Linked DNA regions of Homo sapiens: region 2 is linked to region 1. Evidence: promoter capture Hi-C in 16 types of primary human blood cells and fetal thymus (Javierre and others, 2016). All regions are on one chromosome and are shown on one strand. Each heading gives the region's core, a stretch centred on a gene start or on the middle of the fragment in contact. The rest is flanking DNA. Distances are from core to core; before and after follow the strand shown.

Region 1 (6,492 bases), core at 3,813-6,312:
TGCCTGCTATGAGTTCTACAATTGTTTAAACACTTGTGATCTAAGCTACCTTAATCCTATAGTACACCATCCAGGGAGAGATGGATAGATGAATGAATGGATGGACAGAAAGAAATAGCTATTCTTAGAAACAATGACAACAATAAAATGAAATATATTAACTGTTAGAGGTTGAACATAAATGGGGTAATGAAGTGTCCCACTCATAAACTGCTAAAATGAGATTAGAGAAAGGTACACATTTACATACAGTAGAACTGCTATCTTCATCTCATGTAACTATCTCACATTGTACTAGATGAGAAGTTATAGGTTCCTGTTCTACGTGTTTAAGAATTCCCTTAGGTATCCACTCTACTTATGCTGTTTTGAAGTAGTCTGCAGAATTTAAGTGCACCAGGGTAGACATAATTCCATCAGTCACACCCTCCAAATGAAGACATGGAGAAACAGAATGGTTCCATCGCCCAAGGGTCCTGGATGAAATGCAGTATTGGCACACCATTTGTACCACAAAAACTGAATGAGAATTAGCACTGCTGAAGTAAATTAAAATGGAAACCATGCCTGAAGAATCCCCGAGCAGACAAAACCAATTAGGCCTCATAAGTGACATCAACCTCACTTGATTTGCAAACATAAGCAAAATATGAAGTTACTTCTTATAAATGCCTATGCTAAAGAAAAAGAGAACTTAAGCTTAATCAATCAGAAACATCCAACAAACTTCTAATTACATATCTAGGGGACCTTCCAACACGACAGACCAAATAAAACAACTGTATAACTGCAGCCAATCAAATATTTTCTTTGCTTTACATCTGTGACCCTCCTATAAAAGCCTCCCTCCTGGATTCCCCTGGTGGAGCTCCCAGATCTGGTTTGGAGCTGCTCAATTCATGAATTGTTTGTTCAAATAAACTCTAAAGATGCTTCTATTGTAAAATTTTGTGAAAACGTATTGTATTAGTCCGTTTTTGCACTGTTATAAAGAAATACCCAAGACTGGGTAACCTATAAAGGAAAGAAGTTTAACTGACTCACAGTCCCACATGGCTGGGGAGGTGTCAGGAAACTTACAATCATGGAGGAAGGCTAAGGGGAAACAGACACCTTTTTCACAAGGCAGCAGGAGAGAGAAGAGAGAGAGTGCAGGAAAAACTTCCATTTGTAAAACCATCAGATCTTGTAAGAACTCACTGTCACGAGAACAACATGGGGGAAGCCGCCCTCATGATGCAATCACTTCCCTCCCTCGACACACAGGGATTACAATTTGAGATGAGATTTGAGTGGGGACGCAGAACCAAACCACACCACGTATCAACTGAACCAACTTAAAAATCCATTTTTGTTGACCTTGCGTCTTTCAAAACTCATTTAACAATCACTTAACTGCAAGTAATGAATGATATGTTAGGTAGCACACCTGACACCATAACACTACCTTAGCAAGCCTTGTAGAGATTATGACGAAAATCAATTTAGAGATGTTCATATAACTTTCTGAATAGCACACAAAAATTTAACAAATGAATAAACAAAATGCAGTACGTATCAACGAAATGATATATATGTAATGTGGTGTATATGAATGGAATATAGAATGGAATATTACTCACCCTTAAAAAGGAATGAAGTACTGATACCTGCTGATTTAGAGGACGAACCTCTAAAACATGCTAAGTGAAAGAAGCCAGACACAAAAGAACACATATTGAATTATTCAATTTTTAGGAAAATCCAGAATAGATAAATTTATGGGGGCAGAAAGCAGATCAGTGGTTGCCGAGGATTGGCAGGGAGAAGGGAATGAACAACTGCTTAATGAATATGGGGTTTCCTTTTGGGGTGATGAAAATGTTTTAGAAACGTGACGGTTCATAACATCATGAACGTGCTAAATGCCACACTTTAAAATGGAAAATCTGGCTAGGCATAGGGGCTCATGTCTGTAATCCCAGAGCTTTGGGAGGCTGAGGTCGAAGGATCACCTGAGGGCAGATTTGGCCAGCCTGTGCAAAATAGTAAGATCCCGTCTTTTAAGAAAAAAAATTATAAAATTAGTCGTGTGTGGTGGCACATGCCTGTAAACCTAGCTACTCCACAGGCTAAGGTGGAGTTCAAGGCTACAGTGAGTTATGATCACACCACTGCACTCCAGTCTGCAGAACAGTGGGGTACCCTGTCTTTGTAAATAATTTAAAAATAAAATGAAAAATTCTGTTACAGGAATTTAATTTAAAAAAGAAAATTGGAAGAAAAAACTCACTGAAGTTAGAAAAATCATGAATAGCGGATTTTCAAAATTAGATTAAAAATAAGGGAAATATAAGAATAGCTTCAATCAAATGGAGCAGGCCAATGAAGAAGAAAAAGAATATTAATGGGTACACTGGAAAGACTTAGGGGTATTACAACACTTAATTTCCTCCTCTGAGAGGAAGTCAGCCGATTGTGTCTCAAAGAATTGCATTAAAAGAAAGTACAAAACCTTTTAAAAGTTCAAAGATTTTGGGAAATTACCTGGTTCAGTCTACTCAATCAGATTAAAAAGGACTGCATGATATTAAGTAATTTAGTCAATGCCACTCTTGAAATAACTAAATACAGAATCAATGCTTCAAATCCTGATCATCTGATCCCAAGAACAGAGACGCTTCTGGACTAAATTCAAGACAAACTTTTGCTATTATACCAAGGTCGCACAAAAATCTATCTAGCTCAGCGCTAACATAAAAATCTTTTGCTATTTGGGTCTTGCACCTTTCAGCTTTAAGAAATGGGCATAAAAATAAAAATAAAAAAGATTCCCTGCTTTAGAGAAAATAAAGTAGCTTTGTGAGTGCCCAGGCTGTCTTATTCATAGTATCCATGATATCTACAATTACTGGTACATGGTAGGCACTCCAGTATTTTTAAGAGTATAAAAATTTTTGAAAAATGAATCGTTCAAAACCTAAAATATATGGTGGAAAATATATGAGTCTTCTGATACCCCCTCAGGGAACATTACTTTTTGCCATTCCATAGCCTCTTAGCCTTTTGGCTGTCTTTTCCAATTTCCTTTTCCTTTTTAATGTATCTTCATAAATTATGAAAGATTAGTTGACAATGCTTAAGGCAGCAATCCACATTAAAAATCTGTAATTGTAATAAAACATCCATTAAGTTTATTTTTAAAGTCACTTTAAGCCAGTAGTGTCTTATTTTTACTCCCTTTTGAAACAGAAGCCCCTTACAATGAGGATTTTGAGGAACCTGTCCTGTGTCCCTCTTACAAAGTTCCCATTGGTAATTCAGAGAGGTCCTCAGGTTGAGAACTGCTGGACTGAACTCCTTTTATTGGCTCCAACTCTTCTTATTTCTTCCTATGAAGAAATGCTAGTCTTTATTGAGTTGAGAAAACATTACAAGAATCTGTGAAACAAAGCTTCTAATACCTGTATAAAACTGAAAACCTTGTGACTTTATTGGTAAACAGCCAAGAAACACAAGAGACTACTAGTAGCCTCTAGAAAGAGGTACAGGTCGATGAAGTGACCAAAACCGGATGCTGATTTGCTGATTCTGCCAATTTCTTGTTAAATGGCTTTCAGTAAGTGATTAACTTTTATTTTCTAAATTCAATAGAGATCTGCTGGTACTCTGTAAGATACTGTATGACTAATAGTAACGGTTCCCAAGACTTAAGAAAACGTAACTGCAAATTGGCCACAAGTCCAAGGGGTCGGGGCCTCTGCTATCAGCATTGACCTTTACTCTCGGGAGTTCATATTTCCATCTGTAAAACTAGAAAAGATAAAGGGACTTATTCACTGAGCTGTTGTGAGAATAAATGAGCACACGAAACCATTTGGCAGTGCCTAGTACACAGTAAGCAATCTAATATTATTTATGTCATTGTATCCATATATATATGGATACATACATATATATGGATACATGGATACATACATATATACGGATACATACATATATATGGATACATACATACATATATATGGATACATACATATATATGGATACATACATATATATGGATACATACATATATATGGATACATACATACATATATATATATGGATACATACACCTGGCTAATTTTTTTATTTTTTAGTAGAGACGAGGTTTCACCATGTTGGCCAAAAAGAAACAAAGGAAAAGTCCTATCAATTAGATAGCAGTTCTATATTACAGGCAATAATATTTTTTCTTAAAAAAAAAAAAGGTAGAGGATGATGGAAACCGCTCCTCCCACAAGTAAAACAGCTGGAGCTCTCAATCTCAAATTGCCAATCCGTCACTCACATATTCAGATCTAGGGCCACTAATCATCATCCGTGGTCCCGAGCTGTGAGAGCAGTAGCAAACAAATAGGAAGAAAAAGAAGAGACACCAAACATCAAAGGGCTGGATAGCTTGTAAAAAACCAAAAGTACCTCTAGTATAGGCGACACTAAAACTTTACAAGTGAGTCAAAACGGCCCCCTATGGAGTTGGAATGCAACACCCAACTCCGTCCCCACCTCTCGGAGCTCTCAGCCTACACGCTGCAGGGGCGCGAGCCACAGCCAACCTGGGGAAGATGCGACCCAGGTGCCCGCCCCAGGCCGGGGCGCCGAGTGCCAGCGCCAGGTGCAGACGCCGCCCCGTCTCCGCGGAGCCCGGGGATGCCCACGCCGGGGCGGCGGCCGGGAACCCCGGCCAGCGGCTCTCCGGGACCCCAGTCCCGCCTGCGCCCTCTCCAACGTCCGGACACGCCGTGACAACGCGGCCGGGCCCGGGGCCCGCCCCCGGCCGGTGACCGCAGTGCGCGGAGGCTGAAGTCGTAGGTGGGCGTCTGGCTTCCCCGGCCTCCTCCATCCCTCCCCGAACCTGAGCCCCGGCTCCGTCCGCCTCCCAGCCGTCTCACCGGCCTCCCGCCCGCCTCTCCGCCGCGCGCGCCCGCCTTCCGGCCTCCCAGCGCTCAGTCCTGCCGGAGGCCGACGGGAGCCGCCGCCTCCAGCTCGCGCCTCCGCTTCCTCTCGGACTCCTCCGGCTGCCCCTCACCCCGGCAAGTGGCCAGGAGAAAGCCAGCTCGCCGCTGGGCCTCCTCCCACGCTTCCCGGCCGCGACCAATGGGCCCCCGCCGCCGGGAAGCCGCGCCCGCCCCCTGGCGGTGGAGGACCAAGCGGGCGCCCGGGCCGGCCAGAGGGAAGGGCCGGAGAGCGGAGGGAGGGGTCTGCGGTCCCGCCCACCGCCCCCGGCCAGGCGCTGCACAATCTGAACTTGCCACGTGGGAGCTGCCGCCGCCGCAGCGGCCCTGCGCCGGGTGGCACTACGGGAGGGAGAAAAATGTGTCACCGCCGTCTCCCCACCGTTTACACGCACAAAATCCCAGCCTCAAGGGCAGAACATTTTAAATGACCCACCCATCCTAGAGATGCGCCAGTTAGGTCATCTTATATATCTTGAGATAGCTGAGATGGTCAGATCAACCAAGGACCTTGGGTTATTTGCCGTTTGACTTCTTGAACCCTAGGAAACTGATTCTGAAAATCCTACTGTCCAGCGTCATTAGAATTCTGATCACCTTTAATGCACCACCCAAGAAGAACAGTAGTCCTTGCATTTTCCAAGTCACGTTTATTTTTTAAATTATAAGATACACAATCGTTAGAAATATTTTTTCTCAGGAGATTTCCTACAATTGTGTTGATAATTGGGAAGTTAATCCAAATCTTACTACATAAGACCTTAGAATGCAAAATTATTTCATAATTCAGATCCATATTCTAAAATAATGAATAACTGTTACCTAGTATTTGACAGAATATTGGGATCATCAGTGGTTGCAGAAATTAAATTGCATTTAAAAATAGGGTTTGACTATAGTGTGTTAATATAGAATTAATAATCTACCAAATTTTAGCTTTCCTCCAAAAATATAAAACACACAAACTAATAGTAACTATGAATTCTGGAGTTTGTGATCCGTGATCAGGGGAGAAAGCATGAAATGAATTCTCATTGTCTTCCATGTGCCAATATTATGCTATTTGTGTATTACTTAAATCAAAAAACTAAGACTCCAAAACTGAGTTTAAATATCTTGCTCAAAAATACAAGATAGTAAGTTATGAAGCTGGAATTCCGGCCTAGCTTCATGTAGCTCCAAATAAACAAAAAGGCACTTTGCTTATTATAGTACCAAAAAATCATAACACTTACTGTACACATGCCTCTCCTAGACTGCTATGTCTCACTGAAAGAGTTTATGAAGCCTCTTGAGTAGGGAGGTCACGGTGTATTTCTGAAAGAGCAATCTGCTCTGTAACCGAGCCAACCAGATTGGAAATTACATGTGACATATTCTTATAGCACCACACCTGAAACAATTCCTGTGCATAAAGTTTAATGTGTTAGTAGCCTATTCTCCACTGACCATAAGATATAGCTTAGAACCCTTTGGTAGGTAATGAAATTAATAACAATGGGTCACAACCAAC
Region 2 (6,587 bases), core at 2,244-4,743, 2.2 Mb after region 1:
GAATACTCAAAATAGTATATTTCCAGCCTATTTACATCAGTAACCTATCTATTTCTATAACCTAACTATGACCAAAGGAAAAGAATTAAAATTCAGATTAAATAAAACTAAACTGCGGTGTTTGTTCTCTTGTATAAGCAGCAGGTATAGTGAGAGGAGAAGAAAATTTCCCAATAGAATAATTTAAGATTTAAATATTCTAAATGTAATTAATAATGTTAATAATTTTTCTAATCTCAGTCTCTTCATAATCATGCTTACATTTTACTACTCAATATTATTTGTCAGGGTTAGTATTTGGGAAATAATGTAGAATTAAGCTCTCAAATATACTATGCAATTGTTTTTTAACTTGCTCAAATGCTCAAGAACCAAAAATAAAAATAAAAGTACATTTTAATTTTATAATTCAAAATGTCTGTATTTTTCCCTACTAAAAATATGCCACACTCTTAAAATAAGATACAACTATTAAAACAACAGTAATATTGTGCTACCAATTTAAACTAAGGTTAGGCCAAGGAGAACATGCTAATTAAATTAAAAGAGTGTCAAACTCCAGGCTTCTAACAGAAGTCTCATAAATTCATGCTATAATCAACAATAAATACTATAATCAACATACACATGAGAAGCACCACATTTTCTATATGTGATTAGTCTTACATATTTGACGAGTTGATATAAACAAGGAAATTTAGTTTTCCTTTCATTCTAGAACGTCAGTTGTGTGTCTCTATGAAACCAAACACCTAAATAGTCAACTTTTTCTTTACCTGAAGAATCACCTCTTCTAATTGACCGCCTTGAAGTTGGTCTTCTAATTTTTTAACATCTGGTTCCTATAATTTCAGGGAGAAAAAAAATTAAAGAAGCATACTAACTGAATGTTTCAATATCCTATATATTTTAAAATTCCTATATAAAAACACTTAAAAATACAACTTTTCTTTCATCATACTCTTTTTACTAAATATTTGGTGAAAATTCATTTCACCTCTGCTATTTCATTGCTTTTCTGTCTTAATATTGAAAAGTGCTAAATGTTTATTGACATGCTGATCAAGGGACAGAAATACAATGTCAAATTCAGTCTTCCTAAAACAGATTTTAAAATATGACTTTGCTTTCTTAATATTTCCTGTATTTCCTCTGAGAGCATTAGAATTAGAAATAAATGCTACTCTATGACCCAGAAATTACACTTCTAGGCATAATGCCAAACAGAAATGCATAATATATTTTTTAAAAAACATGTTTGAGAATATTCACAGCAGCACAAATTATAGCCCCAAACTAGAAATAACCCAAATGATCATCTGTAATAGAATGGATCAATTAATTATAATATTTGGATATAATACTTCACAGCAATGAAAATGAATAAACTGTATGCAACAATATAGGTGATTCTCTTAACCACAGTATTAAGCACAAGCCAGAGTACAGTATGTATAAGACAGTACATACTAATGATTTCATTTATATAAAATTCAAAAACAGGCAAAAAGAAGTCCAAATAGAGATTAACTTTACAAGTAGTAAATTGAAGGGGAAGAGGCAAGGGTTTTGTTGTTCTGGAAAAGTCCTTTTTTTCTACACATTTGTAATGTATATAATTATTTAATAGAAGTTTTTAAGAACAAAATGTTAATAAATATAGTACCTAGAACATTCAATGACATTTAGTTATTTTCTAGTAAACTGAGCTTTTTGAGCCAGAAATCATGCTCTGTAAATATACCCACATATGTAAATAAGGCTTTGTCTTTTCAGGGTGTTTTTCTGGCCAATAAATGGAATAAAGAGGGAGAAAATAATACATTTTGCTTTTCAACACAAGACGTGATATGTTACTGCCTCAGGGTATCTTGCTGGATGGCCCAGGGTATCTGCATCACTTGTTTCTTCACCACTTTTCAAATCTTTGCTCAAATAACACCTTCTTATTGATTAACTACTGATAATTTGCATTATGATAGGCTGAAAAATACCACAAAAGATATACATGTATTAATTTCTAGAAACTGTGAGTGTTACTTTATACAGCAAAGACTTCACATATATGATCAAGTTAAGGATGCTGACATGGGGAGATTTTCCTGAATTATCCATATAGTCCCTAACTGCAATTATAAGTGTCCTTATAAGAGAGAGGCAGAGGGATATTACACACAGAAAAGGAAAAGGTAATGTAACCACAAAGGCAGAAATTGCAGTGATGAGACCACAAGCCAATAAATGCCAAAAGCCACCAGAAGCTGAAAGAGGCAAGAACAGATTCTACCCAATATCCTCCAAAGGAAGCACAGCCCTGACAACACCATCTTGATTTGGGTCCCTGATGTTGATTTCCAACTTCTGGCCTCCAGAAGTCTAATAAAATAAACTTACATTGTTTTAAGCCACCAAGTTTGTGGGAATATTACAGCAGCCATACGAAATTAATACATAGTGTAACATCCCCTATCCCCACCATGGCACACATTTTCCTTGTTTTATTTTCCTTCACTGCACTTACTATTTTCTAACACACTATGTACGTCTTTACTCAGTTTTTACTTTTTTTTTTTCTTTTGGTCTCCCATCACTAACATGTAATCTCCAAGAAGGAAAGGATTTTTATCTGTTTTGTGCCAACTAGGCACAAGTTTCCATGCCTAGAACCATACATGGCATTCAATAAATGTTTCTTGGTTAAAGAAGTGAATACATAAAAAACAGCTGAAAGGGGGAGAAAAGGGGAAAAAGTAATAAGCATGTTTAAGACAGATTATTTAACAGGGAATTAACTCATATGAGAGACCAAAAATCAAAAACAAAACAGGGAAGCTGGTCACTGTTATAAGAGACTCAGGAGAGTGAAGGTAAAGAAGGCAAGGAAAGTTCAACGACACTTTCATTTCAGAAAAAGCCTGTGTTAGGTGAACAGTTCAAAATTTGTCTTACCGATAGTGAATAATGTGATTTTTAGTCACCAATGGCATAATGCTATTAAACTTGATAAGGTACCATGTACTGAATGCTCACTATATACTTGGGACTATGTTAAGCTTTTACGTGCATTACCTCATTCGGTTCTAACAAAAAGTGTTCGAGGTGGGTATTATTATACCCACGTTATAGATGATGAAATTGAGACCGAGAAAACTAGCAATATGCCAAGTCACTCCACAAATAAGTATTAGAACTAAGATGAAAATCTTGGACAGGGACACAAACAACGCTTTTCACCAAAATAGTACTATCTCCCTAGTAATAATCTGAAAAAAAAAGTTACTTTTATTTCCACCTTAGGCTTAGTAAATAGATATTTTATAATAATGGCAATATTCACTAAAGATTTTGTGTGTGGCTGTATGCAGGGTTAAAAATCTGTGATAATTTTACCAAAAACAGGAATCAGAGATACAACTGTTAAGTGTTTGGGGTTATATCTAGCCTTTGGGATAAAGACACATTTCTAAGGAACCTTATGTTCCAGGTACCATGCTAGAGTCTAAGGATACAAAGTTGAATCCAATATCATTAACAAGTAGCTTATGGCTGGTGGAGACATAATACAGCATGAAGGTACAATGGAAAGGAGGTAACAAAGTTGTCAAACTCTACTTAAGAAAGTAAGAAAAGGTTTCACAGAAGAAGTGATGATTTATGAAGAAAAAGTAAGAACTACCAAACAACGTAAAGGCATTCCAGGAAATGAGAAAATACAAATGAACACAAAAATAAAAATGCAAGGAATCCACAGAACTGCCAGCAGTTTGGTACTGCTTAAGTATAGAGTATAAAACAGGAAGCAACAGGATCAGATTGAGAAAATAACCAAGAGCCAGAACTTAGAAGGCCTTCTATACCATGTTTTTACCCTGTTAGGCCAGTGGTTCCCAAACATGGCCACACATCAAAATCATGCAGATAAAGGTAGCTAAGCAAGCTTCATACAACCAGCTCAACATAAATCCTTAAACTCAGCCTTTGAGAAACACTGAACAGAAAACCACAGTAAGATTTTAAGCAAGACAGCACAGTTGGCCCTCAGGATCTGCATCTGTGGATTCAACTAAGAATGGATTCAACCAACCACAGATGGAAAATATTCAAAAAAACACAATAAAAATAACAATACAGCAATTTTTAAAATACAGTATAACTACTTACACAGCATTACATTGTAGTATTATAAGTAACCTAGAGATGATTTAAAGTATACAAGAGGATGTGCATAGGTTATATGCAAATACTATGCCATTTTATATAAGGGACTTGAGCATCCTTGTATTTTGGCATCCATGGGAATCCTGGAACCAATCCCTCATGGATACCAAGGGACAACTGTACCATCACAAGATTTACATATTGAAAAAAAAATCAGTCTATTATTGGCTGTATGGTGGAGCATGTAATGAAGTATAATGGAAGTACAAACAGATCAATTAGTTATAAGGCAGTTTAAATAGCAGAGAAAAGGATTTTGGAACCAGTAAGTAAAGAAGTATGAGAGTAAACTCTTCTTTGGTTGAAACTGGCTATGGGAGAAAACAAAAATAGGACAATAAGTAAAGGAAAATACAAGCATACAGTTTTTTTTATTTTTAAGATAGGAACAAGCTAAAAACATTTGAGGCTATTTGAAAGATGATGATAAAATAGGTGAGGCACCGGGTGCAGGTAGCTCATGCCTGTGATCCCAGCACTTTGGAAGGCTAAGGCAGGAAGGTCACTTGAAGCCAGGAGCTTGAGATCAGCTAGGGCAACACAGTGAAACTCCGCCTCTACAAAAAATTTTAAAAATTAGCTGGGCATGATGGTGAGTGCCTGTGGTCTCAGCTACTTGGGAGGCTGAGGTAGGAGGATTGCTTGAGACTGGCAGGTCAAGGCTGCAGTGAGCTGTGATCGTGCCACTGCACTCTAGACTGGGTAACAGAGTGAGACCCATCATATAATACAATACAAAATACGATATAATACAAACTGCATTGTTTTGTTGCATACCTAACGAAAGATAGGAATTCTCTTTGAACTATATAGTCTGGTAATCTAATAAGAAGAAATATATGTGACTAGGATCACTTATGCATGTATATAAATTACCTTCAGAGTTTCTAAGCACTATTTTAGATAATTACATAAAGTCCATTTAATGATTGCTAGTGTGAAAATTTAACAATAGTACAATATAGTTTGGTATGAATCAGCAGTCTAGACTTTTATTAACTGCTACTTAATAACAGTCTAGTCTTTTTGACAGGTTTCTTTGAAAAAAAAATGCCCTTTTTTGTTTTGCTTTTATTGTTCTCTAAGATTAGAAAAAGGAGATCAAGATTGATATATCCAAGATAAAAAGCAAAAGATCAATAAAGGACTAAATAGTGAAGAGAGGTAAAAGGAACAGCTACAATGTTACTTCAAGGAAGGATCTGATCCTAGTCTCAAACTCCAGTATGTAACAGAGGCCTGCATATAGAAAACACTCAATAAACAAGAGTTTGCTGAATAAAAGGGAGGAATGATGGGAAAAGAGCATTCAAGGAAGGAGAATAGAAGAAAAGTGTGTCGAATATATAAAAAATAAGGAACTAAACTTTTTTGGTTAAATGTTACACAAGACAACAAAACTGACTTAGCTACTTACCGCTTTAACCATAGCCAGCTTCTCATTTGTAATCTGTTCTGTATACTTTCTATATGCTGCATTTTTAGGGATTTCCTCAAGAACATCAAGAATCTTTGTGTACAATATTCTTAGCCTCTGAAAAGACAAACCATACAAATTTCCATAGGTTAAAATATTACCAAAGACTTAATGGAACACTTGTCTCAAAGACAAAACAAACAAAACTCACATCTGTTTTTTTTTTTTGCTTTTTTTTTTTAATTTAACTCTTCTTTGCTCTGACTTCTTTATGTCTGTGCCCTATCTACACCCTTTATAACTTAGGAAAAACCTGTATATAAACATGGGAACATTCTGTATTTTCTGTGTATAACAAGTTCTAGATAAGTCAAAGGTATGATAACAAGTAGAAACAAAACTAACTTATTGCTAAGGACCTTTTGGGAAATCGAATCATTTACCAAATCAGTATTTTTCTTTCTTTCTTTCTTTTGAGACGAAGTTTCACTTGTTGCCCAGGCTGGAGTACAATGGCATGATCTTGGCTCATTGCAACCTCCACCTCCCAGGTTCAAGCGATTCTCCTGCCTCTGCCTCCACAGTAGCTAGGATTACAGGTGGCCGCCACCACGCCTGGCTAATTTTTGGTAGAGACGGGGTTTTGCCATGTTGGCCAGACTGGTCAGAAACAAAACAACTTATTGCTAATGACCTTTTTGGAAATCAAGTCATTTACTAAATCAGTATTTTTCTTTCTTTCTTTTTTTTTTTTTTGAAACGGAGTTTCGCTCTTATAGCCCAGGCTGGAGTACAATGGCGTGAACTTGGCTCACTACAACCTCCACCTCCTGGGGTCAAGTGATTCTCCTGCCTCAGCCTCCCAAGTAGCTGGGATTACAGGTACCCGCCACCATACCTGGCTATTTTTTCTATTTTTAGTAGAGACAGGGTTTTGCCATGTTGGCCAGGA

Evidence for each region. The method cuts DNA at HindIII sites, captures the fragments that hold promoters and counts their contacts. A CHiCAGO score of 5 or more calls a contact.
Region 2: a fragment that was not itself captured here is called in contact with the fragment with the promoter of FAM3C in region 1 in 1 of 17 cell types (non-activated CD4 T cells); the score reaches 5.6 in non-activated CD4 T cells.

Annotation. Positions count from the first base shown.
Region 1 is chr7:121,391,246-121,397,737 of GRCh38, forward strand. FAM3C (FAM3 metabolism regulating signaling molecule C) reads right to left here and starts at 5,063. Exons shown (of 10, transcript NM_014888.3): 1 at 4,917-5,063. RefSeq lists enhancers at 4,100-4,685, 4,686-5,270 and silencers at 4,498-5,327, 5,368-5,427. The HindIII fragment of the contact is 3,372 bases long and covers 3,432-6,492 here.
Region 2 is chr7:123,544,835-123,551,421 of GRCh38, forward strand. NDUFA5 (NADH:ubiquinone oxidoreductase subunit A5) reads right to left here. Exons shown (of 5, transcript NM_005000.5): 3 at 5,636-5,752; 4 at 777-842. Among named protein-coding and RNA genes, the nearest start is that of NDUFA5, 9.7 kb to the right of the region's middle. The HindIII fragment of the contact is 884 bases long and covers 3,052-3,935 here.